Linked DNA regions of Homo sapiens: regions 2, 3 and 4 are each linked to region 1. Evidence: promoter capture Hi-C in 16 types of primary human blood cells and fetal thymus (Javierre and others, 2016). All regions are on one chromosome and are shown on one strand. The core of a region is centred on a gene start or on the middle of the fragment in contact, and the rest is flanking DNA. Distances in the headings are between cores, read along the strand shown.

What was found. Contacts are between HindIII fragments. The CHiCAGO score rates a contact against its expected background, and 5 or more counts as called.
Region 2: a fragment that was not itself captured here is called in contact with the fragment with the promoter of TIPARP in region 1 in 2 of 17 cell types (total CD8 T cells and fetal thymus); the score reaches 6.7 in total CD8 T cells.
Region 3: a contact is called between a fragment that was not itself captured here and the fragment with the promoter of TIPARP in region 1, in 1 of 17 cell types (neutrophils). The highest score is 5.2, in neutrophils.
Region 4: a fragment that was not itself captured here is called in contact with the fragment with the promoter of TIPARP in region 1 in 2 of 17 cell types (naive CD8 T cells and activated CD4 T cells); the score reaches 7.0 in naive CD8 T cells.

What each region holds. Positions count from the first base shown.
Region 1 is chr3:156,672,712-156,679,806 of GRCh38, reverse strand. TIPARP (TCDD inducible poly(ADP-ribose) polymerase) reads right to left here and starts at 5,217. Exons shown (of 6, transcript NM_015508.5): 1 at 5,011-5,217; 2 at 1,193-2,150. The coding sequence starts at 2,109. It overlaps TIPARP-AS1 (TIPARP antisense RNA 1), which reads left to right and starts at 4,094. Exons shown (of 1, transcript NR_027954.1): 1 at 4,094-6,636. RefSeq lists silencers at 4,132-4,491, 4,862-4,931, 4,962-5,011 and an enhancer at 5,422-5,721. The HindIII fragment of the contact is 8,735 bases long and covers 3,564-7,095 here.
Region 2 is chr3:155,855,622-155,862,513 of GRCh38, reverse strand. It overlaps LOC105374174 (a long non-coding RNA gene), which reads right to left. Exons shown (of 3, transcript XR_924607.4): 2 at 4,182-4,262. Among named protein-coding and RNA genes, the nearest start is that of SLC33A1, 4.6 kb to the right of the region's middle. RefSeq lists an enhancer at 4,437-4,536. The HindIII fragment of the contact is 260 bases long and covers 3,980-4,239 here.
Region 3 is chr3:157,209,620-157,216,906 of GRCh38, reverse strand. The region is part of intron 2 of LOC101928236 (a long non-coding RNA gene); the gene reads right to left. Among named protein-coding and RNA genes, the nearest start is that of CCNL1, 53 kb to the right of the region's middle. The HindIII fragment of the contact is 1,462 bases long and covers 3,731-5,192 here.
Region 4 is chr3:157,232,536-157,239,377 of GRCh38, reverse strand. All of the region lies in intron 2 of LOC101928236 (a long non-coding RNA gene), which reads right to left. Among named protein-coding and RNA genes, the nearest start is that of CCNL1, 76 kb to the right of the region's middle. The HindIII fragment of the contact is 596 bases long and covers 4,103-4,698 here.

The DNA of each region.
Region 1 (7,095 bases), core at 3,968-6,467:
ACTCTCTAGACACATAGGTAGTGTAAATCAACATATCTGTGAACAAAGATGACTCAAGGAATTGTTTTCTCTTGGACTTCTGGGATGGTATATTCAGTGTATTTTCCCCTCCAATATGGGTCATCTCAGTACTATACCAGGCCATTCATTAGTATGAAGCTGTTAGGTTGCCTTCATGGCCTCCCCAATCAGGGAGCATGGACAGAAGTGTTCTTCTCTCCCTTTTAATTTTAATCCTTACTCTTGGTCATACACAAATAGCTATTAACACCACACACTTTAGCTCCTTCTATGCTACAGGAGAAATAACTTACAGATGTAAACATTAATGCTTATTATATAGCCATTTTTGCACTAGCAACTTTACATGAGGCAACTATCATTTTCTTCATTTTAAAGTTTAAAGAAGAATTCAGATGTGGAAATACCAGTTGCCTGCCAGTGAATGCTGCTTAGACATCCATACTAAAAGAACTGAGTTATGTGTATACACACATCTTGTGTACCAAAACTCAAGGATAATTGTTTGAGTATTAAACATACCTTACCATAAATTCATCCCTTCACTGATTGTTAAAGGACTCTTCCAGGTTAAAAAAAAAATACCCTAAATTCTGGAAAAATTTATTTTATCTATAATATAAACTTAATGGTGAAAAGTTCCAAGGAAACTAATAAAAGATCCAGAAGTATGGGAGGAACTTCTGAATCATTCACAGAAAAGATGTTTATACCATTCAAAATGAAGAGGGTCACAAACATCTCTCGACAATACTATTTTTCTTTAAAAAATAACAGCTGCTCAATGTGCAGAGCTTTAAAATTAGATAAATTAGGAGATTCATTATTTATGTTATAGTAAGATTCGCCAGACTTTCTTTCAAAAGCCAGCTTTCCTTGGGTGATTAAAACAGTATTTGATTCACAATATTTAATGTATGTGCAACTTCTCAGTCACACGCACGTTGAACTGACATATGAATTGTTCAAATCGTAAAACTTTCATTGTCCGGTTGAGTTAATAGCCTGCATTCACCCACCATGAAAAATCAGGACAGCACAGTCAAAAGAATAATAGTGGAAAAAAAGAAAACCTGTTACTACTGAAAGAAACCACCCTACTAAGCTTTTAGCTTCTTTACCTTCTCTATAGCATTTAACAACAGTTCTACAAGTTGTTATAAATACATACCCATACTTCATTCTCATTCTATCATTTTCTGGGTTACAGTAAAATCTTTCCAAGTGCTCCTGAGAATCATTGAATACACTCTGCCACTTTTGAGTAGTTGTCCTTTTGATCTGCCAATGATATGGCAAGACAGTGTGGTGCTTCAAACAATCCCTGCCATAAATACAAGTGCCTTGCAGAAAGTCCATGCAAATTTCAATTCCGTTCTCTTGGTGAGTGTGGTACTGCAACTGGTTCACCAGCTCAAACACGAGGTCAAGGGAAGCCTCTTCACTTTTGTCCTGAAAGAGCTCAGTACTCAGCTTATCACTGGTGTCCAGAATGTATTGGATTGTAAAACTGTTTTCTTGGAAAATGCCTGGAACATAATCTATGACTTTGTCTAAGCAGTCAGGACTAGTAGGAACATCACTTGAAACTGGGTGCAAAAGATCAGTCTGGAAGTGAGCTGGTGTGGAATCTGCCACCGTCCCACTGAGGGTTTCTGATGGAAAGCTGTGATCTTGGATTGGAACCACTCGTTCTGGAGCTTCAGTGGAAGGATGGGCTTCCGGTATCTGGTCCCCAACATTTGTCCTATCAGGAATCAGAACAGACATATTATTTTCTGCTGGTGGGCATGATGAATTGATTTCCATGGCTTTCTTCATCATAGGTTCATGTAAGCTGTTCTCATCTGTACTCTGGTTCCTAGATCTAAAAACCCCATCAAGTGAGCCAGATTCTAGAAGAGTGTTTAATATTGGCCTCAAAGACCTCAGGGTTCCAGTTCCCAATCTTTTCTGATCCTTTTTCTTAAAACAAGTCTTCAATGGAGTGATCTTCTCAGAGAGTCTCATTTGGCATGAAAAGTCATCAGGAGGAGAGGGAGGCTGCACTACACAGTCTGGCTCAGGTTCGGTGGTTTCCATTTCCATAATGTGGATTAGCTCCAACTGCTCCTCAGAGTCTAAAAATCCTACGAGGAAAGGAAGGAAGATGATCATTTACAAACTGACAGCAACTGGATTTCATTCATTCATTAAAATGTTTTGTTTTTGTCCTGACTGATTCCCTGAAACCATTCCTCTTATACTATATTTAGTTTTTACAAGTCAATTTTAAATTTTATCGAGAAATTAAGGCTCCAAAGCACCCAAGGCTATTCAAAAGCACACAGCAGGTAAAAGTAGAAGAGTCTTTCAACAGGCCATTGGCATGCATTTGTGGACTGAATACATAAGAGTTTGCAATTCTGCTAGGTTAAGAATTTCTACTATAAGGTTAGAGTGGGGTGGGAAATGGGAGGTAGAAATAACTGTATCTAGATGATGACAGCAGGGAAACCACATTTCCACTCAGCTTTGCGGTTCTCTTTATAGTTGTTTATGTATCACCTATCTCATGAGTTGACAAAAAGTTTCTTTAAAAGTTCATCAAATGAAAGATAAACTTCAAACTTAAAACAGTGAGTCAATTTAAGGGTATAAGAACATACACAAGTAACAGGGGCTCTCAATTGAAATGTTCTATGGGAGAAAGCCAGGAGTCTGTTAAGCATTTCTATATTCAGAAAGCTCTAATATACTATCCAAGAATGTTAAGAGTCTACTTTTACAACCCCCAAAAACATTACCGCTTCTGATGGAATACAAGGGTGTGTTTAGTAACAGAAGCCCCATTAGCAACAACCACTGCACGATGTGTCAGAAGACAAGCACAACTTGGTAACACAGAAAAAGCCTCCTAGTTCTTGCCTTCAGAAAAGTTACATACATACATTTTTAAAGAGCAAATGAAGGCATACTATAGAAAAATAAAAAAAAAATATAAAACACACACCAAATTTCAGATTCCTAATCAACTACTGAAAGAGACGAAAAAGTCCTTTCTTCCAAGAATCAGACCCCTTGAAAAAAACTGAAATTTGAAAACATTTACTGAGATTGTGCCAGGTGAGAAAGGAATGGTGATGAGCAATTAATCCTCTTCTCTCTTGTCCAATAAACTGAAAGAGATCTGTGACGCAAGGTCCCATGACTTAATCAAATATGCATCCTAGGTGCCCAATAAAGTGCCTAGCTACCACAATGCACACAGCTGGTGTTCCATATATATTTTGTTGGCTGAATTAGTTAAGAAAAGCACATATTAAATGCTTAGTTCTTTGTTGTTTGTGGGTCAACAACAAAAGGTAAAACTGAGTGTCCCCAAAAGTGAATATTAAAAATTTAATTGGAGAGTCATAAATCTATGTGTAAGAAGTCCATCAAATTCAGAAAAGTAAAATACAAAGCAGTTTATAACGAAGTATTAAATTTACATGATAAGTACAAAAGGAAAAGGCAGAAAAAGGAGAGTTCACTGTAAGCTGGCATTGTTAGGGAAAGCTTCACGAAGAAGGAGGGATCTGACATGAGACATAAATCAACTGGAAAGGAGCCAAGCCAGGCGTTATTATTCATCATTTGGTGTTATTGCCTCAAGGCACAATTGGCACAGATTGTGGTATTCCCTCTCCACCATACCAAACCGGCCTGTGCTTTCCCCACGCGCACACTCTCTAACCACTCCTATCAAACCCAATCAAGGTAAAATAGACACTAAATCGATTTTATTTATATGTGTGTCTGCGCGTACACACGCAAGCGCGCGCGCGCAACTTTTCCTATTATTGCCCTTTCATCAAACTCGGAAACAAAACTGGGAGGAAGAAGCAGAGAACTGGAGAAGTGGCTGGAGGGGGAAAGCCACTAGAACCTAGCTCCTCAATTAGTTTTCATAACAGAAAAATAAAGATGAGAAGAACACATCCTCCGGTCTCCAGCGGCAGGCGACACACCGCGACACCCCTCACCTCGTGACGCTGGGGTTCTGCGGCACTCCCGGCCAAAAGCACTTTCCGAAAAAACTGCCGCTCCAAAGCCTGCCCGCCCGCCGCCGCGCGACACCCCGGCGCCGAGCCCGGGTCCGAGTGACGCCTCCTGTTGGCCGCGGCGGTTTGCTCAGCTCCTGGTCCCGGGCCGCGCCAACTCCGCGCAGTGCAGCTGAGGCGCCGCCCGGCTCTGCAATTCCGGGTGTTCCCGGGCGTCCCCGCCCCCGCCTTCCCCTCAGCAGGCGCCTGGGCGCCCCCCAACTCCTGTCCAGCCTCCTTCGGACCAACGACCCGCCCCGGCCTCCCTGCATCCCAGAGACTACTCGCGGCGCCTTCTCTCTCTAATTCTTCTTTACCCCCTCAGCTCACCTCCCGAGGAGCGTCCAACGGGTCTTGGGGGCTCGCAGAACTGAGCCGCGAAGCGCGGGGGAAAGGCGGCGAGCGCTTCCCGCGGCGGCGGGGAGGAAGACGAAGACTTGTGCGCTCTCAAAGTTAATGTGAAAACATCTTCCAAACTTCTGGGCTGCAGCCCGAAACGCGGGGTAGCCGGAAGGCTCCCGTAGCTGCCGTGCCCTCCCCCCCGGGGTCTGGGAAGGGCTCCTAGGCGCCTCAGAGCACCCGGGGTCGGCCCGCGGGGGAGGCCGCATAGACGCGCCCCCACCCTGACGAACGGGGAAGGGGCAGGCGCCTGCGACCCCAACTAAATCCTTCGGCGCCTCGGTCTGATGTATACACCTGCCACAGGCTCTAAGTGCCTAAGAAGTGTAAACCAATTCCATCTTCATGCTGACGGGACCCGAGTGAATTCGGTACAAAGGGCAGTCTCAAAATCAATCACCCCGATCCGCGAGAGCCCCGCACACTGCCGGCGCGGGGCCGGGGCCGGGGCCGGAGCCGCGAGGCCGGCGCTCGCACTCCCCGCTAGGGTTCTTCAGCCCCTCAGTGCCCTCCCGGAGCCCTTTACCTGAACGGGAGCCTGAGAGAACGGACGACAGGAGCCGAGTGGAAAGCAGTGCCCGCGCCGGAGATCAGCGCCGAGGGCGGGAGCCGACGTCTAGGGACCACAGAGCCGCGACGCGGCGAGCCGCGCACGGGCCATTCCGCCGCCGCGAACGCAGAAAGCCTCGACCGCGCTCCGAGTCCAGCCAGCTCGCCTGTCACCTCGATCTCTGCTTTAAGTGGCTTCCGGTCGCCTCCTCCCGACGGCCCGTCGCGGAGGCGGAGCCTGGGCGGCCGGAGTTCGGTGGGGTGGGGTGAGGAGGCCGGGCGCTCAGTGGGTGTCGGGAAGAAGACCCGCCCCCTGCGCGCGCGTGCGCGTTCGTTCGAGGGGAGGCGCGCGAGTTCTGTGCGGTGGACTTATGCTCCCGCGAGGGGGCGTGTCCTTTCTCGCGTCCGCAGTGTCCCTGAGGGTCCGCGTCTACACGCGGCTGTGAGGAAGGAAGGCGCGTGCCGCGTGGGACGGGCTCCACCTGCCTGCGGACAGATGGAGGGTCACTTTGTTCCGAGAAGACCCAGACACCCGAGGGAGGATGTGAAACGGAACGACCCGTTTCGGTGCGGTTGGCTTTGTTTATTTGCCTACTCCCCAGACGCCTCCAGCCTCTGATTCCGGCACACCCTGTGAGGAAGCAAACGGCTGCCTCCCCCACTGCCACCAGACGAGGTCGCCTGCCCCGAGCCGGACAGGCTGGACAGGCTGCGCACCTGCGGCGGCCGACTATTTCGTGGGCCTTGTACGCCACCTTGCAGAAGGGAAGCTGTGAGGTTTTGGCGATAGAAGCGCATTTACTTGTGTTTTAAAGCCCACAAACGCCGTAGTGACTAACTTATTCATTCAGCAAATGTCTGTCAGAGCGTCTATTACGTACCAGGCATGTAGCCTGAACTTCACGCCTGTCCTCATGGAGCTTGCAGAGCACCTCTGAAATACACACCACATACGGAATGGCCATATTTTCTGGGTTGTAAAATACTTTGAATTGTAACTCCATATATTGAATAGATTTTCAGTAGTGAGGGAAGAAACAATACATTTAGTTCATATAATCCATATGTACGAAAAAGAAGTGCTGGTAATTCCAGACATGGAAGTCAGTAAAACTAGGAGCTAAGAGGTAATAATCATAGACATTATGATTCTAAGCCTTTGTTAAACGGTTCTAAACCAGACTGGGTAAGCGCACCAGCAATGAATAGATTAAGGGTGTTATCTCCTTAGCAGCTTATTTCAAATTGCATCAAGGCAGGGCCATTAAACTAAGGTGAGAATGATATGGGCGGAATTCAGAGGACAATAGGTAAAAGATGAAAATCTTTACATTTAAAATCTTATTGAGACAAGATCTTGGTCAGTGTCTACTCATACATAGAATTGCCTAGAAGCTAATATTTGAGTTTACCATATTACTGTTGGCTTTCTATTTTTCTCATTTGTTCTGTTTCTTTTCTGTCCTTTTGTGCCTTCTTGTAGATTATTAATTCCACTCCCTTGTAACAATTAGGTTGTTATACATTCTTTATGCTTTTAGTAGTATTTCAGTTATTTATTGCTGTGTTCAAACCACCCCCAAAATATAATGACTTAAAACAATGGCTCTTTTATTTACTCATGATTCTGAATTCTCTGGCACAGGAATTCAGTCAGGGCATAGTACAGGTGGCTCATTTCTGCTCCATGATGTCTGGGGCTTCAATTAGCGTGGGCATACTGGGGCCTGGCTGGAATGGCTTAACTAGGGTCATAAGTCTTGGGACTTAAGGATGGAGATGGAGTTTCATGACAAAAATGAAGTGAACATGATGTGGAAAATATGGACATGGAAGCCACGAGCTAAGGATGCTGGAACAGAAAGAAGGCTGTTAGCTACATACCTTGGTTTTTCTCTACATGGCTTCTCCATATGGCTAATTTAGGCTTCCTCACAGCATCATAATCTTAGGATTGCAAGAGGGGACATTCCAAAAAGACAAGCCTCAATGTGCAAGCCTTTACTTTTATCATGCTTACTAATGTGTCACTGGCCAAAGCAAGTCTCATGGCCAAGCTCAG
Region 2 (6,892 bases), core at 2,860-5,359, 820 kb after region 1:
ATCTCGGCTCACCACAACCTCAGCTTCCTGGGTTCAAGTGATTCTCCTGCCTCAGCCTCTCAAGTAGCTGGGGTTACAGGCATGTGCCACCACACTTGGCTAATTTTGTATTTTTAGTAGAGACAGGGTTTCTCCATGTTGGTCAGGCTGGTCTCAAACTCCCAACCTCAGGTGATTTGCCCACCTCGGCCTCCGAAAGTGCTGAGATTACAGGCATAAGCCATCACACCAGCCTATAATAGTGATTTTTATCCCCAGGAGCGATTTAGGGAGTGTCAGAATCTTGTAGCCTCCAGCTGCATGACTCCTAAACCATAATTTATAATCTTTTGACTAATATGTTAGTCCTACAAAGGCAGTCTAGTCCCCAGGCAAGAAGGGGATTTGTTTTGGGAAAAGGCTGTTATCATCTGTGCCTCAAACTATAAACTATAAACTAAGTTCTTCCTAAAGCTAGTTTGTCCCATGCCCAGGAATGAACTAGGACAGCTTGATGGTCAGAGGCAAGATGGAGTTGGTCAGGTTAGATCTCTTTCTCTGTCTCAGTTATAATCTTGCACTGACGGTTTCACTTTCATTATCTTCCAACTAATCCTTGAATTGCTTCTTGGGAAGGTGTCAAGAGCCTGGACACTGGTTGGGGTTGAGGCCCCACCAGCATTTGGGGACCTCCCTAACCCACTGGTATCAATAAGACCTAACAATCCTATTCCTAGGTATTTGCCCAAGAGAGATGAAAAGATATGTTTACACAAAAACCTGTATGCAAATGTTTATAGTGACATTACTCATACAAAAAATGGGAAACAATCCAAATGTTCTTCAACTGGTCAGTAGATAAATACACTCTGGCATATCCATACAATGGAATATTACTGGGGAGAAAAAAAGAAGGAGGTGGGGATGCGGGACAATGATATCAATGAATCTCAATGCATTATGCTGACTGAAAGAAGACACACTCAAAAGCTACATTTTGTATGATTCCATTTACATGATATTTTGGAAAAAGCAAAGCTATAGGGAGAGAAAATAGATCGGTGGTTACCAGAGGTTGGGGAATGGGTGGAGAGGTTGACTTCAGATGGGCACAAGGGTATGTACTTTTTGGAGTTGACGGACCTATTCCATATCTTGATTGTGGTGGTGGTTCTATAACTATCTATTTGTTAAAACTCATAGAACCGGGTGATGGGTACGCCAAAATCTCAGAAATTATCACTAAACATCTTATTCATGTAACCAAACACCACTCATTCCCCCAAAAACCTATAAAAAAATATATATTTTTTGAGACTGAGTCCTGCTCTGTAGCCCAGGCTGTGAGTGTAGTGGTGCGATCTTGGCTCACTATAACCTCCATCTCCCGGGTTCAAGCAATCCTCCCGCCTAAGCCTCTCAAGTAGCTGGGATTACAGGTGTGCGCCACCATGCTTGGCTAATGTTTATATTTTTAGTAGAGATGGGGTTTCATCATGTTGGCCAGGCTGGTCTAGAACTCCTGATCTCAAGTGATCTACACGCCTCGGCCTCCCAAAGTGCTGGGATTACAGGCGTGAACCACCGTGCCTAGCCTAAACCTATGGAAATTAAAAAAACAAAACAAAACACCCAAAAACCTCATAGGGCCGGGCATGGTCGCTCACGTCTGTAATCCCAGCACTTTGGGGGCCAAGGCAGGCAGATCACTTGAGGTCAGGAGTTCAAGACTAGCCTGGCCAACATGGCGAAACCCCATATCCACTAAAAATACAAAAATTAGCCAGGTGTGGTGTCATGCACCTGTAGTCTCAGCTACTCAGAAGATTGGGGCAGGAGACTCGCTTGAACCTGGGAGACAGAAGTTGCAGTGAGCCAAGATTGCATCACTGTACTCCAGCCTGGGCAACACAGCGAGACTCTGTCTCAAAAGAAAACAAAAGGCCAGGTGCCGTGGGTCACACCTGTAATGCCAGCACTTTGGGAGGCCAAGGTGGGTGGATCACCTGAGGTCAGGAGTTCAAGACCAGTCTGGCTAACATGGTGAAATCCAGTCTCTACCAAAAATACAAAATTTGTCAGATGTGGTGGCAGGCGCCTGTAATCCCAGCTACTCAAGAGGCTGAGGCAGGAGAATTGCCTGAACCCAGGAGGTGAAGATTGCAGTGAGCCAAGATCACGCCACTGTACTCCAACCTGGGTGACAGAGCAAGACTCTGTCTCAAAAACAAAACAAAACAAAAAACACACAAAAAACAAACTCATAGAACTGTACACTAAAAAGGGCCAATTTTACTGGATATAAATTATACCTCAATAAACCTGATTCCCACCTCAAAAATAAACAATTTTAAAATTCTCAGGAATATATAGAAGATACAGTTCAGATCTCAGTGAAATGACTGGAAAACCAGAGAAGAAATCTACAATCAGACATAGGTATATGAAGGGTCCACTAGATGGTGGTATTAATTTTTGTAACAGAGCCTAGAAAAACGAAGCAAAGACATCACAGGCGTGGCAGTGGAGTAGTTTTTTGAAAAATGTTCTTGAAGATTATTGCTGTAATTCCTAATATATTGTCACCTTGATTTTTGTGTTTTTGCTAAGCCAGGTGTCCTGGCCTTCCACTGATTCTGGGAGGCCATCAATATCCTTCCAGTAAAATTCTCTCTTTCAGTTTTGTTTTGTTTCTGAAACAGACTGAATAGCAGCATTAATAGCGGTGGTTAACCAATTTGTTTGTTTGTTTTTTGAGATGGAATATTGCTCTTGTTGCCCAGGCTGGAGTGCAACGGCGTGATCTCGGCTCACTGCAACCTCCGTCTCCTGAGTTCAATAATTCTCCTGCCGGCCGGACATGGTGGCTCATGCCTGTAATCTCAGCACTTTGGGAGGCCAAGGTGGGTGGATCACCTGAGGTCAGGAGTTCGAGACCAGCCTGGCCAACATGATAAAACCTCATCTCTACTACAAATGCAAATATTAGCCGGGTGTGGTGGCACGCACCTGTAATCCCAGCTACTCAGGAGGCTGAGGCAGGAGAATCGCTTGAACCCAGAAGGTGGAGGAGGTGCAGTGAGCCAAGATCACGCCACTGTACTCCAGCCTGGGTGACAGAGCAAGACCCCATCTCAAAAAAATAAAAATAAAAATAATTCTCCTGCCTCAGCCTCCTAAGTATCTGAGTTTACAGGCATGCGCCACCATGCCCAGCTAATTTTGTATTTTTAGTAGAGATGGGGTTTCACCATGTTAGCCAGGCTGGTCTCAAACTCCTGACCTCAGGTGATCCACCCACCTCACCCTCCCAAAATGCTGGAATTACGGGCGTGAGCCACCATGCCCGGCCTGTTTTGAGGTTTTTGTTGTTGTTTTTGTTCTCATTTTCCTTTATGGAGAATTTTAAATATGTACAAAATAAACAGAATGGTCTCATATGAACCCTTAGTGTACCTATCACCAAGCTTCAATAGTCTTTGATAATCTGCCATTTTAAATTCAAGCCTCCATGACCACCAATCCCCATGCAAATAGTTTGTTTGTTTGTTTGTTTGAGACGGAGTCTCGCTCTGTCGCCCAGGCTGGAGTGCAGTGGCGGGATCTCAGCTCACTGCAAGCTCCGCCTCCCGGGTTCACGCCATTCTCCTGCCTCAGCCTCCCAAGTAGCTGGGACTACAGGCGCCCGCCACTACGCCCGGCTAATTTTTTGTATTTTTAGTAGAGACGGGGTTTCACCGTTTTAGCCGGGATGGTCTCGATCTCCTGACCTCGTGATCCGCCCGCCTCGGCCTCCCAAAGTGCTGGGATTACAGGCGTGAGCCACCGCCCGGCCATAGTTTTTTTATAGTTGTTTGTTTGTTTTTTGAGATAAAACTCTTATGTATTTTGAAATGCAGAAATTTTAACTGTGCAATTTCAATTTGTTTTTGAAGGACCTAGTTTGGAAGTTTCTAAGAACATAGAGTAAAAAGAAAAAGGAAAGTTATGAGAAAAAGCTTAAGGGGTAATTCCAGTAAACAAAATATAAGTTTACTAGGACTTTTAGGGGGAATTAATGAAGAGGAAAAAATGAAAAAGCAAAGATATTATTAAGGAAAATTTCTCTAAAATCAAGAAAGATTTGAAACTTTGTTAAAAAAGACCTAATAAATGTTGAACAAGATTAATAGAAAAACATATATGTATTATACAATACATACCTTCATACATCCTGGTGAAAATTCTGAACTTCAAGGATAAAGCGAATTTTCACAAGCTTTCAACTGGAAAACACAGGATACCTATAAAGGGACAAGGAAAAAAAAAAAAAGCAAGAAAGGATCATGGCGACCACCAGAAGGGTTTTATATTTGGCAGTTTCACCAGCTTCCCCAAAACACATCAATCAGGGAACACCAGTATTCCAAAAGAAAGGGGAAATGATATTAACTGAAGTGAGTTAGGGGAGTTGAAAATGCAAAAAAAACAAAAACAAAAAACAAAAACAGCTATTCATGACAGTATGGGCTGAAGGTCCCATGCGGTATCAGTTTTGTTTTCATAGTGATAGTGACATTTGTTCCACATTTGCTGAGGGACACTGAGGGCCTGGTGGGGGTGGTGTTCCCAGGTTTGTAGAGAAATGTCTTAGTTTGTGTTGGAAAGATACTACCACTAAGTCTTCTAAGAAGACAACAGCAATTTGGGCATGGCTTAGCAACGAATACTTGTCTCTACTCTTTATTTAGCATTAGCAGGGGTGGCTCACCTTGGGGCTGGAGGATTCTCTTCTCACTGTGTTGCCCAGACTGGAGTGCAGTGGCACAGTCTTGGCTCACTGCAACCACCACCTCCCAGGTTCAAGCGATTCTCCTACCTCAGCCTCCCAAGTAGGTGGGATTACAGGCATTCACCACCACACCCAGATAATTTTTGTATTTTTAGTAGAGACAGGGTTTTACCATCTTGGCCACACTGGTCTTGAACTCCTGACCTCAAGTGATCCACCTGCCTTGGCCTCCCAAAGTGTTGAGATTACAGGCATAAGCCATTGCCCCTGGCCCACCTTATCACTTTAATAATGCATACACATTGAATTGGGGTAACATGAAAAACACTTTTCCTGATATTTGCCTCCAGTCATTTTTCCTATTGTTTGTAACTCTTGCCTGCATAGATCTAAAGATTTAACATTTGATAGGAAGATAATTGAACCACTAAAGGGGAATCATTCTTATATGTAGGGAGAAATCAATTATTTCCAAGAAGATTCCTTATTTAAAAACTGATGTGGCGGGACACGGTAGCACACACCTGTAGTCCCAGCTACTCAGGAGGCTGAGGCAGGAGAATCACTTGAACCCGGGAGGTGGAGGTTGCAGTGAGCCGAGATCACACTGTTGCACTCCAGCCTGGGCGACAGAGCGAAACTCCATCTCAAAAAAGAAAAAAAAAAAATGAAAAAAACTCAAAACTGATTTGGTATCTATACAATGGACTAATACTCTGTGATTTAAAAGAAAGACGGACATACATTGATACTGATATATTACCATCTTAAATGGATCTCAAGGACATTTTGGTGGATGAAAAAAAAAGTTGATCCCCAAAGTTGCATACTATATGATTCCACTTTTATAATATTCTTGAAAGGACGTAAGTATAGCCGTGGAGAACAAATTAGTGATTGCCAAAGAACAGGGAGGAGGACAGTGGACTGGTGCAACTATTAATATGTAGTACTATAAGGGATAGCACTATGAAAGGGTAACACAGGACACACACACACACACACAAGCTAGTGCATGTAAAAACTGGTGAAATTGGAATAAAGCCTGTGGTCTGGTTAACAATATTTTACAGATGTCAGTTTCCTGGTTTTAATATTGTACTATAATCACGTAAGAGGCAATGATCAGAGGAAGGTGGGTGAAGGGTATATGGGACTCTGCTATATTTGCAATTTCCTGTGAATCTATAATTATTTCAAATTAAAGAAGGGGAAAAAATCAAACACAAGACATACAAACTCATCAAGTATTTCCTTTTTTTTTGGAAAAAAAAAAAACACCTACTGATTGTGAATGGCTTTATTGGCTGCTTCCTTTAACTCCCACAACTCTCTGAAATAGATGTTATGAACTCTATTTTAATTTTCATCAAAATGGAGGCTTAGGTTAAGTAATCTGTCCAAGGCACAACTACTGTTAGAGCCAGGGTTTGAATCCAGCACAATATAAATCCCACTCATGGTTGTTTTGGTTTAATCTTGATTGGACTTAAATGACACCGTTCTTTTCTTTAACACCCAGACTGGAGTGCAATGGCATGATCTCGGCTCACTGCAACCTCCGCCTCCCGGGTTCAAACGATTCTCCAGCCCCAGCCTCCCGAGTATCTGGGACTACAGGCATGAGCCACCACACCCAGCTGATTTTTGTATTTTTAGTAGAGACAGGGTTTCACCATATTGGCCAGGCTTGTCTTGAACCCCTGACCTCAAGTGATCTGCCCGCCTCAGCCTCTCAAAGTGTTGGGATTACAGGTGTGAGCCACCGCGCCCGGCCAACACTGTTCTTTTCTGCAATCTATTCTTCTACTTAACAAAGATTAGAGGACTTTACAGTTGCCTTTTTTTTTTTTTTCCAGACGGAGTCTCACTCTGTCGCCAGGTTGGATTGCAGTGGCACGATCCCGGTTCACTGCAACCTCCGCCTCCCAGGTTCAAGCGAGTCTCCTGTCTCAGCCTCCCAAGTAGCTGGGGCTACAGGCGCGCGCCACCAGGCCGAGCTAATTTTTTGTATTTTTAGTAGAGACGGGGTTTCACCGTGTTGGCCAGGATGGTCTCAATCTCTTGACCTCGTGATCCACCCGCCTCGGCCTCCCAAAGTTCTGGGATTATAGGCGTGAGCCACTGTGCCTAGCCTGCCAT
Region 3 (7,287 bases), core at 3,212-5,711, 540 kb before region 1:
GGTCAAGTGTATGGTAGGCCTTCCCTATGTTCTCTCTTTCCCAAACATGCAGCTAAAAAATAAAGAAGTCAGAAATGAAAGGTGGCCAGGCATGGTGGCTCACACCTGTAATCCCAGCACTTTGGGAAGCCAAGGTGGGAGGATCGCTTGAGCACAGAAATTTGAGACCAGCTTGGGCAACATAGAGATCCTGTCTCTATAAAAAAAAAAAATAATAATAATAATAATAATAATAAATAAATAAATAAATAAATAAAACTTAATTAGCTGGACATGGTGGCATGCACCTCTAGTCTCAGCTACTCAGGAGCTTGAGGTGGGAGGATCACTTGAGCCTAGGAGGTTGAGGGTGCAGTGAGCTATGATTGTGCCACTGCACTCTAGCCTGGGCAACAGAGCTAGACTCTCTCTCAAAAAAGAAAAAAGAAATTAAAAGCCAACAGACTGGAAGAGCAGGGAAGTAACAGAGGGAAGGACAGCACAATGAGATTAAAGCTGTTCACCTTTCTAAATACATATTCTTGAGGACCAGGTCTAGCCCAGACACAGTTCCAGCTAAAGCCCCTAAGTGAGCAGTGGGAGACAACAGGCTGGAGTGGGCCGCCACAGGGCGCATGGAGAAATGTCAAGGCAGAATGAAAAGAACCATTTTGAAGGGCTTGATAAAAGCAGGAGGTGGAAGGTTGTGACCAAAGGAAAAAAATCAACAGTGAATATTTCCAAGGCTAGCAGAAATAGAGAAGTAAAGTCTTTGAAATAGTCAAGGAATGACTTCTTTTGAAAGGATCTGGATAGGTCATTAAAATATCAGATTCTTAAAACCAAGTCAAAGCCTTACACTTATGAAACACAAATTCATGTTTTAATATATAACATACACAAATAGGGACATCTGATATACTTGGAATCCTGTTTTATTCTCATTAGTGATTTTCTGCATCATACTCATGTGTCAACCAGACTGGTTCATTTTAAATCCTATAGGATATAGATTTGATATAAAATGGTAATTCAATATATTTGTCCTTGTTAATAAGAGTAAATCACATAAAAACTGCCAAATCCTTGTAACAAACTTAATGAGTTTACTTTTTTATTGTGAGATATGCAATCATAAAAACATGAACCTGCTATTGCCTTCAACCAAGCATTTCTTTTTTTATTTTATCAAACAAAATATAGGTGATGTTTCACAGACATAATAGTCATTCTTTAAAAACCAGAATGTTTAGTACATTCTATTTTTCAAATTTGCTACTTTTTTCTTTAATTAAAAGTCTCTCCCAATACTCTTAAGGTGGAGGTGGTAGAAAGGAACTGTGTTACTAACTCAGTTAACACACATGCTATTGAGCTAGGCACAGTGGCACAAGCGTGTAGTCCCAGCTACTTGGGAGGCTGAGATGGGAAGATCACTTTGAGCCCAGGAGTTCAAGTTCAGCCAGAGCAACATGGTGAGACCCTGTCTTAAAAAAAAAAAAAAAAAAAATGGCTGGGTGGCTTGGCTTATGTCTGTAATCCCAGCACCTTGGGAGGCCTAGGTGGGAGGAACACTTGAGGTCAGGAGTTCGAGACCAGCCTGGCCAACACAGTGAAACCCCATCTCTACTAAAAATAGAAAAATTAGCTGTGCATGGTGGTACACACCTGTAGTCCCAGTTACTCAGGAGGCTGAGACAGGAGAATCACCGGAACTAGGGAGGCGGAGGCTGCAATGAGCCAAGATCGCACCACTGCACTCCAGCCTGGGCAACAGAGTGAGACTCCATCTCAAAAATTAAAAAAAAAAAAAAAAAAAAAAAAAAAAGTGGTCCAGTGAAAACGTCTTGGCTTATGTCAGGATATACCCAGAAGACTGTTTTAATAGCATGACCACCTGAAAGTTAATTGATGAATTTCCACCAAATCAAGTGGGACTTTCTCTGAACTTTTGTACCTAACTTATTTAAAAATATAAATAAAGACAAAAGACTTTCAAACTTACAGATGAAGCAAAGAAGACTGTACTAGAAAGAACCCTCTGCTTCCAAATAAAAAGGCTCTTGCTCAGCCTCTTTTGACTTTGAAATTCCATTTACTGATAAAGCTTATCTTTCTTTTGTTTTTTTTTTTTTTTAAAAAAAGGCTTAAACTGTAAATATCTCTGGAAAAGGCAGTAGCCTGTCTGAAATTCACAAATTTGGTTCTACAACATTCATAAGATCAGGTTTAAAGAGATATAAGAATTTGGGGTTGTTAGGAAGGGAAATGTGACCCACAGACGAACCACAGATGAAATAAAGTGAAGACTGGCTAAAATCACATTTCCAGACTTATTTTGGCTAAAGTCATCTCTCCTTCTCTCCTTTTTTTTTTTTTTTTTTTTTTTTTTTTTTTGAGACGGAGTCTTGCTGTTGCCTAGGCTGGAGTGCAGTGGCGCCATCTGGGCTCACTGCAAGCTCCGCCTCCCGGGTTCACACCATCCTCCTGCCTCAGCCTCCCGAGTAGCTAGGACTACAGGCGCACGCCACCACGCCCGGCTGATTTTTTGTATTTTTTAGTAGAGACGGGGTTTCCCCGTGTTAGCCAGGATAGTCTCGATCTCCTGACCTCGTGATCTGCCCGCCTCGGCCTCCCAAAGTGCTGGGATTACAGGCGTGAGCCACTGCGCCCGGTCTCTCCTTGATTTTTATACTTCTTACCAACTACCAGCCTCATCTAGCACTAAACAATGCTAGAGGCATTGCCCCGTTGCTTTCATCCCATGGAAATCCACTATTTCCACTTACATGAAAACAAAGTTATAATAGCAGTGCTATTTCTTTAAAAATACCCAAGATGGTCGGACACGATTGCTCATGCCTGTAATCCCAGCACTTTGGGAGGCCAAGGTGGGTGGATCACGAGGTCAGGAGTTCGAAACCAGCCTGACCAACATGGTGAAACCCCGTCTCTACTAAAAATACAAAAATCAGCCGGGCATGGTGGTGGGCACCTGTAATCCCAGCTACTTGGGAGGCTGAGCAGAAGAATCACCAGAACCCGGGAGTTGGAAGTTGCAGTGAGGCAAGATCATGCCATTGCACTCCAGTCTGTGTGATGGAGAAGACTCTGTCTCAAAAAAAATTTAAAAAAATGCACAAGATACTTACACCAAAATTGTTTTGAAAATGTGAAATATTGTCATGGTAGGTGTGCTATGATGTGATTTATTGGAAGGTCGAGGTCCCCAAGATAGGTGCACTGTTTGATACTCCTTTCTTCTGCACTTGCAAGATTGCTCTCCTTTGACGTCAGACCCAGTTCTTGAGAACCAATATGTCTCACCTCCAAGGTGATTAATTATATTGATTGCACCTCAAATGTGATGTCACTTCGGTCTGCCTACAGTGATGGAAAGACACAACTAGATATCAGAAGAAGGAAGAGGACTAAACTGTACCTGTGTCATATTGTTCAGAATGATAATTTATCCTTTTTGATTTGATTTTTAATGATTTTGTGGTGTTGGGTGTTGACAAATGTATGCCACTAGATGTGCGTGATCTGAGCACAGGCATGTTTACTTTCTGAGTCTGATATAACCACAGTGGCAGTGGAGACTGAATCCACCCCATCTTCCTTCTGTGCCCTCCTCTTTTTGTTTTCTTTCACAATGCATATCTCTAGTCCTCGCTTACCAAGGATTATATTATGATTAATGAGATCACTGACAGTCAGAAAATAAGTGGACAAACTTGAGAACTAAGCTTATTCTAGAGCATTCTGTTTCCATTTTAAACAAGAAAACTGATGAAAACAAAAGAAGTAATGAAAGAAAATAAGGCAAAAGTCCAAAATATTAAACTAAACAAAGCGGGAATGAACACATTTTCTAATGGCTAGGTACCTAAGCATCAAATAAATAATTTGCTACTAAAATGACGCACACTGCTGAGCATGGTGGCTCACGCCTGTAATCCCAGCATGTTGGGAGGCCGAGGCAGGCAGATCACCTGAGGTCGGGAGTTCAAGACCAGCCTGACCAACATGGAGAAACCCCGTCTCTACTAAAAATACAAAATTAGCTGGGTGTGGTGGCATATGTCTGTATCCCAGCTACTCGGGAGGCTGAGGCAGGAGAATCGCTTGAACCTGGGAGGTGGAGGTTGCGGTGAGCAGAGATTGTGCCATTGCACTCTAGCTGGGCAACAAGAAAGAAACTCTGTCTCAAAAAAAAATAAGAATAAAAATAAAAATAAGAATAAAAACAAAAATAAATAAAATGATACACCCAACCCAAAAAAAAAAAAAAAAAAAAAAAAAACCAAGCACATTATTTCCAATCTTATCACTTCCTAGGTTTTTTTTTTTTTGAGACGGAGTCTTGCTCTGTCGCCCAGGCTGGAGTGCAGTGGCACGATCTCGGCTCACTGCAACCTCCACTCCCAGGTTCAAGCGATTCTTCTGCCTCAGCCTCCCGAGTAGCTGAGACTACAGGCACACACTACGGCACTCGGCTAATTTTTGTATTTTTAGTAGAGACGGGGTTTCACCATATTGGCTAGGCTGGTCTCGAACTCCTGACCTTGTGATCCACCCACCTTGGCCTCCCAAAGTGCTGGGATTACAGGCGTGAGCCACCGCCCCCGGCTACTTATCACTTCCTAGTTTTGAGGCTAATTCTCCATTAAGAGAACAAAGTCAATTCAATAAAGGATTCAACAGAAATTCACTTTACCTCTAATGAATAATTCAAACTTTAATATTTGAATTATCTAAATAATTAGCTCAAATTTTTATAATATTTTGTACTTCTAACACATTCTTAGGCATGGCTTTACTTTCTATCCTTTTGGTCAAAATAAATTAATGTACTTGATGTGTCAAAATAGCTTTTATTTGTCCAAAAAAAATCAATATAGCATCAAGAAATCCCTTTAAATACATCTACAGGTTGTGCCTGAGATCATGAGTATTGAAGTGTTTTATACTATTGTCAAATATCATAGAGTTTATCTCCAGGTAGCCTTTGATTATGAAAGATGCCCTTGGTATAAATAATCAAATCAGTTTTTGTAAATACTATTTTCAAGCCTTAAAGTGGACCATAAAATTCAAGGCATAAAAGCAATATATTTTAGAAATTCTGAAACTGTTTCCCCTACCTTTCTACCCAGAATTTAAAAAAAAAAAAAAGTCCTTTTTACTTTTTTTCCAGAAAATTATAAGCTTATATACTTCTTCTCATCTCCTCTTAGTTATATGGAATTTTCCCATTGTCTTCTACCAAAATTTAATCCTTCAGAATTCCCAGTTTTCCCACATGGTTAAATGGAATGTTCAACATTTTTGTGTGTTATGCCTCACTAGACCCATAATCAACCAAAATAGACATTTATGATAGACTTAAAGTTCTCTCGTTTTAAGTAAACACACACTAATTTTTTTAACAATCTAAACTTCTAAATATTCACTAAGTGTTTTACCTTGAAAATAGACTATCAAAAAAAAAAATCATAAGGGCCAGATGCCATGGCTCAAGTTTATCATCCCAGTACTTTGGGAGGATCTCTGGAACCCAGGAGTTCGAGACTGCAGCGAGCTATGATTGCACCACTGCACTCCATCCTGGGCAACAGAGTGAGATCCTGTCTCAAGAAAAAAAAAATATATATATATATACACACACATATATACACATATATACATATATACACATATATACATATATACACATATATACATATATACACATATATACATATATACACATATATATACATACATACACATATATATACACATATATATACATATATATATGATACCAATGTCCTCTATGTCATACGAAAGCCAATGTTGTTACAAAAGGCAGTGAGATCCAAGTCTGAAGAAGCCCAAATAACTTAGCAGACAGGTGAAATCATTGAGCCCATTATAACTAAAATTTGACATTTTATTTAATTAAACAAATAGTTTGAAGAAATAAATGTAAAGTAGTTAAAAGAGATACAGCATGACTCATAAACACATGAGCCAAGCACTGTTTGGGATGTTTGCTAATCCTACTCTAGGCTAATTAGCTGAAAACATACCTGGCAAATCCCAGGAAGCTTAAAGATGATTAAAGAACTCAAAGAAGGAAAGCCTACAGCAACTTGTGCAAAAGAATAAAGAAACTGCAGCTATTCCACCTAAGAAAGCCTGGAAGCCGATTTCATAGTAAACTTCCATTTAATATGGCTGTTATGCAGATCAGGGACAGACAGCTCTCCAATGGGACAAAACAGGATAGGACGCCATATATTTCAACATAAAGGCATAGACAAAAGACAGTCTCCACAATAAGGGGAATCTGTTCAGCTCTCGCCTGGGTGACCGCTGTATGAAAAGTGCGTGACCCCAAGGTGCCCGGGCCCCAAAGCCAATCCTAGCACACTGAAGCCTCAGAATGGAAACAGGAGAGCAGACTCCAGGGAGTGGAATTGAACACATTTCTTCACAGAAGGTGTCTCGATGAGATCAGCAGGGGATCACAGGACACATCACAGAGCAAGGCTTCCTTAGAATCCTCTCCAATTCCTCTCCTTTCCCCAAAAGCTCAGTCCTCCCGGCAAACTCCTTTACTCTAGTAGGCTCTGAGTCCCTCCTTGTGTTTCCTCCTCTCATTCCCCTCTCCAAGTCAATCCCTCTCTCCCTCTTCATCTCCCTCAAATTCTCTTTCTCTCTCTTGTAGCCTCCTCCCCACAACCCAAGTCTCACCCTCTACCCACACAGGCACTGTGGGGAGAAGGACGCCTGAAAATACTCATAGCAGGATTTGTTTAATGACATGCTGCAGTTTATATGCACCAAAAAGATGGCAGCATTGTGCCTTTTTTTTTTTTTTTTTTTTTTTTTTTTTTTTTTTGATACAGAGTCTTGCTCTGTTGCCCAAGCTGGAGTGCAATGGAGTGATCTCGGCTCACTGCAACCTCTGCCTCCCAAGTTCAAGCGATTCTCCTACCTCAGCCTCCCAAGTAGCTGGGATTACAGGTGCATGCCACCACACCCAGCTAATTTTTGCATTTTTGGTAGAGACAGAGTTTCACCATGTTGGTGAGGCTGGTCTCAAACTCGTGACCTCATGATCTGCCTGCCTTGGCCTCCCAAAGTGCTGGGATTACAGGTATGAGCCACCACGCCCAGCCAGCATTGTGCCTTTCTATAAATGATATAAACTTCCTCAAAAGCTCCATTCCCACTTTTAGAGGTGGCAGGATGGAGTGGGATAGGAAAGGTATGAATTTGCTGGTTAAGTGTCAGTGGCCAGCCAGGGGCAATGGC
Region 4 (6,842 bases), core at 3,151-5,650, 560 kb before region 1:
CTTCAGCAGTAAGCCTGTCCAAAGATTCAGGGCTCGTTGACAGGCAAGGTTCCCACACTGGTTACTGCTATAGCCATTGCAGCACTAGGGGGAGCCCTAAGGCAGGCTGATGCAGTGCTGGGTTGCACCCGAAGCCCATGCCCCAGAGACTAGCGCAGCACTGGGGTGCTGCTAAAAAATGCTCTGCATTACTAATCACCAGGGAAATATAAATCTAATCACCAGGGAAGTGTAAATCAAAACCACAACGAGATATCACCTCACCCAGTTAGAATGGCCATTAACAAAAAGACAAAAAAATAGCAAGTGCTGGTGAGGATGTGGAGAAAAGGGAACCCTTATACACTGTTGGTGAGAATGTAAATTAGTACAGCCATTGTGGAAAACAATATTTAGGTTTCCTCAAAAATATTAAAAATATAACAATCATATGATCCAGCAATTCCACTACTGAGTATATATCTAAAGGAATTGTAATCAGTAGGTCATCTGTTTACATAACCAAATGAAAAAACATCAGTTAAGTCAAAGAGATATCTGCATTCTCTCATTTTTCACAGCACTATTTACAATAGGCAAAATATGGAAACAATCTAAGTACCCATGACAAATGAAGGGATAAAGAAAATGTGGTGTATATATACTCAATGGAATGCTATTCATCCATACAAGAGAATGAAATCCTGCCATTTGCACAACATGGATGAACTTGGAGGACATTATAGTAAGTGAAATAAGCCAGGCACAGAAAGACAAATACTGCATGATCTCACTCATATATGGAATCTAAAAAAGTTGCTCTCATAGAAGTAGAGAGTAGTAAAGTAGTTACCAGCTTGGGTGGTTGGGGAAAGCGGAATGTGGGAAGACATTAGTCAAAGTATACAAAATTACAGTTAGATAGGAGGAAGAAACTTCAAGAGGTCTATTGTATAGCGTGGTGACTATAGTTAATGACAATATTCTTGAAAAATGTAAAGAGAGTAGATGTTATGTGCTCTTGCCACAAAAAATGATTACTATGTGAGGTAATGCATTTGTTAATTAGCTAGATTTAACTATTCCACAATGCAATGTTATCTGTCAATTTTAAAACAAATAATAAACCACATACAATATAATTTGTGAAAAAACAAAAAAAAAGCAGGGACTAAACAAGGGCAGAGGAAAGGAACTAAGAGCACCAGCAGCTAGTTGAAATGAATCCCAAGACCAAGGGAGTGATCACAAGGATGGAGACAGCGGTCTAGGAGCCAGATCAAGGACTCACTCAGTGTTGCAGATAATCATTTGAGATAACACGGGCTCCTCCAAGGCATCCTTCCCCCAGGGCTTCTGTGTGCCCATTACTCTTCTTGATGCAGCAAGAAGAAAGAATCAAATTATTGGCCATGACTACCAAAATAGGCTCTCAAAATTCATACCAGAAATTATCATATTAAAAGCTAAAATGTTTAGAGACAAACGATTGTTTTGGTTCCAAAAGCTCTGCTCAATTTCTAAAGGTCTGAACAAGAAGTTTATACTATAAACACTGGAGTTGGAAAGATCACAGGGTAATGTAAAAGCCATTTCTTTCCTCTCAGCACAGCCGCTGCTGCCTCCCTAGAACAGAGGCAAATCTCACAGTTGTGAGGAAAGAAGATAATTGGGAAAAGAGAGCAAGAAAACAAGTAATTGATATGAATTCCTGAGAAAGGGGCCTCCATGGAGCTGGGGTGAAGCCTCTAGAAGAAATTTAAAGTAGTTTTGGGAAGGAACTGAGAGCATAGTAAACTTCTGCTTCCCTTCCCAGAAATACCTAAAGCCTCTTGGAGAAGCCTATATTCAACATTAGGCTACAGCTGAAAACCGGCAAAGTCTGAGAGATGTTCTGTTAGATTGGCCTGAGCACAGCTTCAGTGAGACTCAGCACCTCCAGTGGTATAGGAAAGCAGACAAGAGTTCCCAGGGCCCCCCTTGAAAAGGGTTCAGGAAAGCAAAGAGAGGTCCTGAGATGGGGATGTTGGGCACAGGTGCCTGGAACTAGCAAATGAAGGCCCGTGGCCAGGACATAACCATATGCCAGTGCACAATTAGAAGGACCAGACAGATTGAGTTATATCTTATAGATGCCAGAAGACAGAGATGGCTATCAACCAGAATCATCCTCTTTATGAAATCCTGGATGAGAAAAAAGTTATCTCATCCCCAACCCCCAGGTCTTATATCACCCATGGGACACAGAGATACCTTGAATTGGCTGTATTAAGAGTTCTACCACAAAATGGACATAGGGGCTCAAGAGCTAAACTAAGTTGGGTTGTAGGGAAATAAAGTTACATCTTTGCTCACCTGAATTTTGTGACCGTGAAGTTTATATCTGCTAACAGATCTGGATCCAGAGTAACTCTGATTTAATGCTGAAATCTCCTAAACTACTGGTTTGGGACATCAAAAGTTTTCACTAATTGAATTGTACAGAGTTCAGAAATACATATAACTATGCAATAGAATTTTATATAAAAGCTAAGTTTCAGACTAGTGAAGAAAAGCATATTCAATAAGTTGATTTGGTATAACTAGTAACAACTTGGGGAAAAAAGACAAATCTCATCTCACTCCTTATATCAAAGTAAATTTCATAAAGATCAAAGGTTTAAACCCTGAAAAAGAAACTATAATAATGCCTAAAGAAAACTGGGTGTATTTATTCATAATCTTAGAATGAAGAAGACTTTTTAAAGAATGACACAAAACATAGAAGCATGAAGAATATTAATAAATTTAGCTGTAAAGATTTTTAAATTTCTATGCAACAAAAAATAATAATGAACAAAATCAAAGACAATTGGTAAACTGGCAATATTGTTTACAACGCATATTGTAGACAAAGGGCTAGCTTCCTAAATTTAAAAGGAATGTGTATATACCAGGTGCAGTGGCTCACGCCTGTAATCCCAACACTCTGGGAGGCCAAGGCAGGCAGATATCTTGAGGCCGGGAGATTGAGACCAGTCTGGTCAACATGGCAAAACCCTGTATCTACTAAAAATACAAAAAATTAGCTGGGTGTGGTGATGCATGCCTATAATCCCAGCCACTCTGGAGGCTGAGGCAGGAGAATCGCTTGAAGCCAGGAGGCAGAGATTGCAGTGAGCCAAGATCACTCCACTGCATTCCAGCCTGGATGACAGAATGAGACTCTGTCTCAAAAACAAACAAAAAAGAATGCACACTACAGATATACTTGCAAAAGTATTCCATAAAATATGTTCATTACAGTATCATTTTTCATTAAAAATATATATATATATATTTTTAAACTAAAATTATCTTTAATAAGGGAACTAAGGAAGCATTGCCTGAGGCAGACCATGCAAATGGCAGGTAGGGATCTTGGACAGTATAGACTTGACACAGTTATATTTCTCAGCTAACAAAATAATCCCTCATCCTTTACTGGTACCATAAGGCTTTTGTATTTTCTTTATAACTAACTTACCAAAAAATATTTATTAGAGTCCTACTATATTCTAAAGATAGTCTATTATATCTTTTCAATAGAGCTGGACCTTGAGAGATTGGTGTAATTTCACCAAGTAGAAAAGACAGGTAGGGCATTACAGAAGGCCAAACAAACATGGGGCCATGAAAGTTTATGGTGTGCTGGATGTACAGGATAGAGCACACATGTATTACACGGGGGGCGGAAAGGGGTGCAGAAACAGTGTAGCCAGAAAATGAGGCTGCAGCCAGACTCTGCTGCAGAAGCCAATGGTTTTTCAGCAAAAGATTATTATTATTAAATTTGTATTTTAGAAAACAACTCTGGCAGCTGTGTGCAGGATGGAATGAACAGAGAAGGAGGCAAGAAGGCCAGGTAGCTGGCTGATGCAATAGGTGATGAGGTCAGAACAAGGGCAGAAGATAGAATGGACAAGAGAGAGACACTGCGAACATTTTAGAGATAATATAAACAGAATGTGGCTACTTATAAGATGTGGGAAATGAAGGAGATTAAATCATTTGAGATAGTATTAACAACACATAGTTGATCAGATGTGAGAGGCAAGGAAAATGAACATATTTCTAGTTTTGTTGACTATGAGAAGGTGAAGCTTTTAATCAACACAAAGAGTCCAGAAAGGGAAGCATTTTGATAGAGGACTGGAAGACATGTTAAACTTTGGGGGCACTGGGTTTAAAGTACCTGTGGGGCACATAGGCACAGATGTCTGACTGGTATGTGGAAACGTGGCAGGAACATTGGGCGTGAAAAAGACTGCACTAGCATATAGATAATGCTAGAAGAGAAGGGTGTGGAGATAGACCTTCAGAGAATCTTTGCATTTCAGGGCTGGGTCAAGGAAGAGGAGTCAGCAAAGAAGCTGGAGAACGAAGAGAGAGTGTGGAGAAAAAGCAGTGTCCAAAGCCACAAGCGGAGTGAGCTGGGGAAGCCAGCCCTGAATGGCAGAACTACAAAGTGAGCCCAACAGAGTCCCATGGAAGGTAGGCAGCATAATCTGTCTCCTCAGCCCCACTCGATTTTCCCCTGCTGCTCTATAATTTGAAGTATTGTTCAGTTTTTCATATAAAAACTCACAAATACTTTCAAAAAAGTAAGTGGTATATTCTTTTTTTATCCTAGGGATTCATAAATATAAAAGATGAAGCAACTTTCCCTATACCACTTGGCACGTGAAGAAAAATGAAGCTTAGAGTTTCCCAGGTCTTAGTCCAAGGGCCCAGCAGCAAACCTTTCAAGCACACAAATAAACAAAACCAACAAAATAAACCAGAGTTGACCAAAAAAAAACATGCAAATTAAATTATATATTTTTTCCATTTTCATGAGAAAACTTGCTTCTGACAAAAATACTAGATTCCTTTCTTATGTTTTATATTGTTGTGTTCTTGTTCCTTTTTAAGTCTCATAAAAAAATTTCCCCATAATATTCATGTTCCTCGAATCCTGCCAAAGCCATGGACATTCCTAAAGATTAGATTTATTTAGAATACTGAGTCAACAATTTCTATGCATTTTATTTCACTAAGTTTTTGGGAGTCACTAAATGTTTAATCATGTAATTAATCCTAAAGCCCTTCTAATTGTGTTTGCTCAGGAAAAAAAAAGCTGATTCAGATTGCAATGACAGACTATTAGACATGCCTTGGAATTTATATAAGAAACCAATAAGTTAGTATAAAAATAATTGAGATGTATATATTATGACTGAAAGCTGCCAGGCCAGGTATGGTGACTCACGCCTGTAATCCCAGCACTCTGGAAGGCCGAGGCAGGCGGATCACCTGAGATCGGGAGCTCAAGGCCAACCTAGCCCACATGGTGAAACTCCATCTCTACTAAAAAAACCACAAAAATTAGCTGGGCATGGTGGCATGCATCTGTAGTGCCAGCTACTCAGGAGGCTGAGGCAGGAGAATTGCATGAACCCGGGAGGTGGATGGTGCCATGAGCCAGGATCACACTACTGCACTCCAGTCTGGGCAACAGAGCGAGACTCCATCTCAAAAAAAAAAAAAAAAAAAAAAAAAAAAAAAAAAAAAAAAAAAGACTTAAAGCTTTCAAAGCAAATAAACTTAAGATGCAAAGATGTTTTTCATAAAGAGTGTTTTTTAAAATATGCATAAGATGTATCCAAAATAAGAGCATTTTATTAAATAGCATTTTTAGGGTCAGAACTCAAACCAGACACTGGAAATGAGCTCAGCAGGTGAACAGGTAGTTGTTTTCTAAAACAAAGTACTAAGGACTCAGTGATGTAACTTGAAAGAATTATAATAATTTTTTCTTATAAAACCAATTTTTATCTATAAGTTTAAAAAACAATCTCACATTTTCACATACATATTTTAGTAACTGGAAATTTTAATTCTGAGCTAATCTAAGTTAAAATTGGCTTTCACTGGTATCAATGTGGTGAAAGGAACTTCCACAAATCCAGTAAATTCAAGAGATGCCAGAGTATCTCTAGTTTAAAATATAGCTGGTCTTCCCCTCTGGTCTTGAAGCAAGCAGTTGCTCTTCTCCCTCCAGAGCTGATCCCTTCCCCTGGACTTTAGATCCCCGTCTTTCTATCCTCCTCAAAAAATTACCAACTCCACTGGTGCCATCTTTGTGGTATTTCCATTCTCTGGCTCCATTGGATCCATTTATCTTATATGTAAATTGTGCCTCTGTCTTGGAAATAAATACATCTGTGAAAGTAACCCTGAGATCCCCCCTAGGATGTATCCCTTCCTCTTGTTCCTTTCCCCTGTCATTTCTTGATTGGTTGTCTCCACCGATTCCTTCCTTCAGCATCACCCACTCATGCCTTTACCTTGTCCCCTGTAGTGATGCTCCTGCTCACTACCCCCACTTCTACTCAAAACCATCACTTCCTGTTCATCAAATCAATGGCCTGTTCTCAAACATCATTTCTTTTGAATTTATAGCGTATGACCCTGTTGGCCAGCCCCTCCTCAATAACAAGCTGGTTCATCTAAAACTTGGATCATTTGAGTTTAACCGCAACGGTTAAGAACAAAATGACAACATTTTGTTGTCAAGCAGACCTGGCATCATTGTTTAGTAGCTATTTGACCTCAGTGAAAATTCTTAAACTCCTATCAGTCTCAGTTTGTTCATCCATAAAATGGAATAACTCTTCCTCCTAGGGGAGGCTGTGAGAATTAGATAATAAAATGCATGTAAAATTCTTAGTATAGTAAATGTTCAGTAAAAATTACCTCTCCTACTGATTACTTCCCTGTGTCCTTTGCTAACTCCTCTCCATTCTCATGTCCCTAAATGAGGATCTCTCTTAAAGCCCACGCTTTTCTCTCTACAAGCTCCC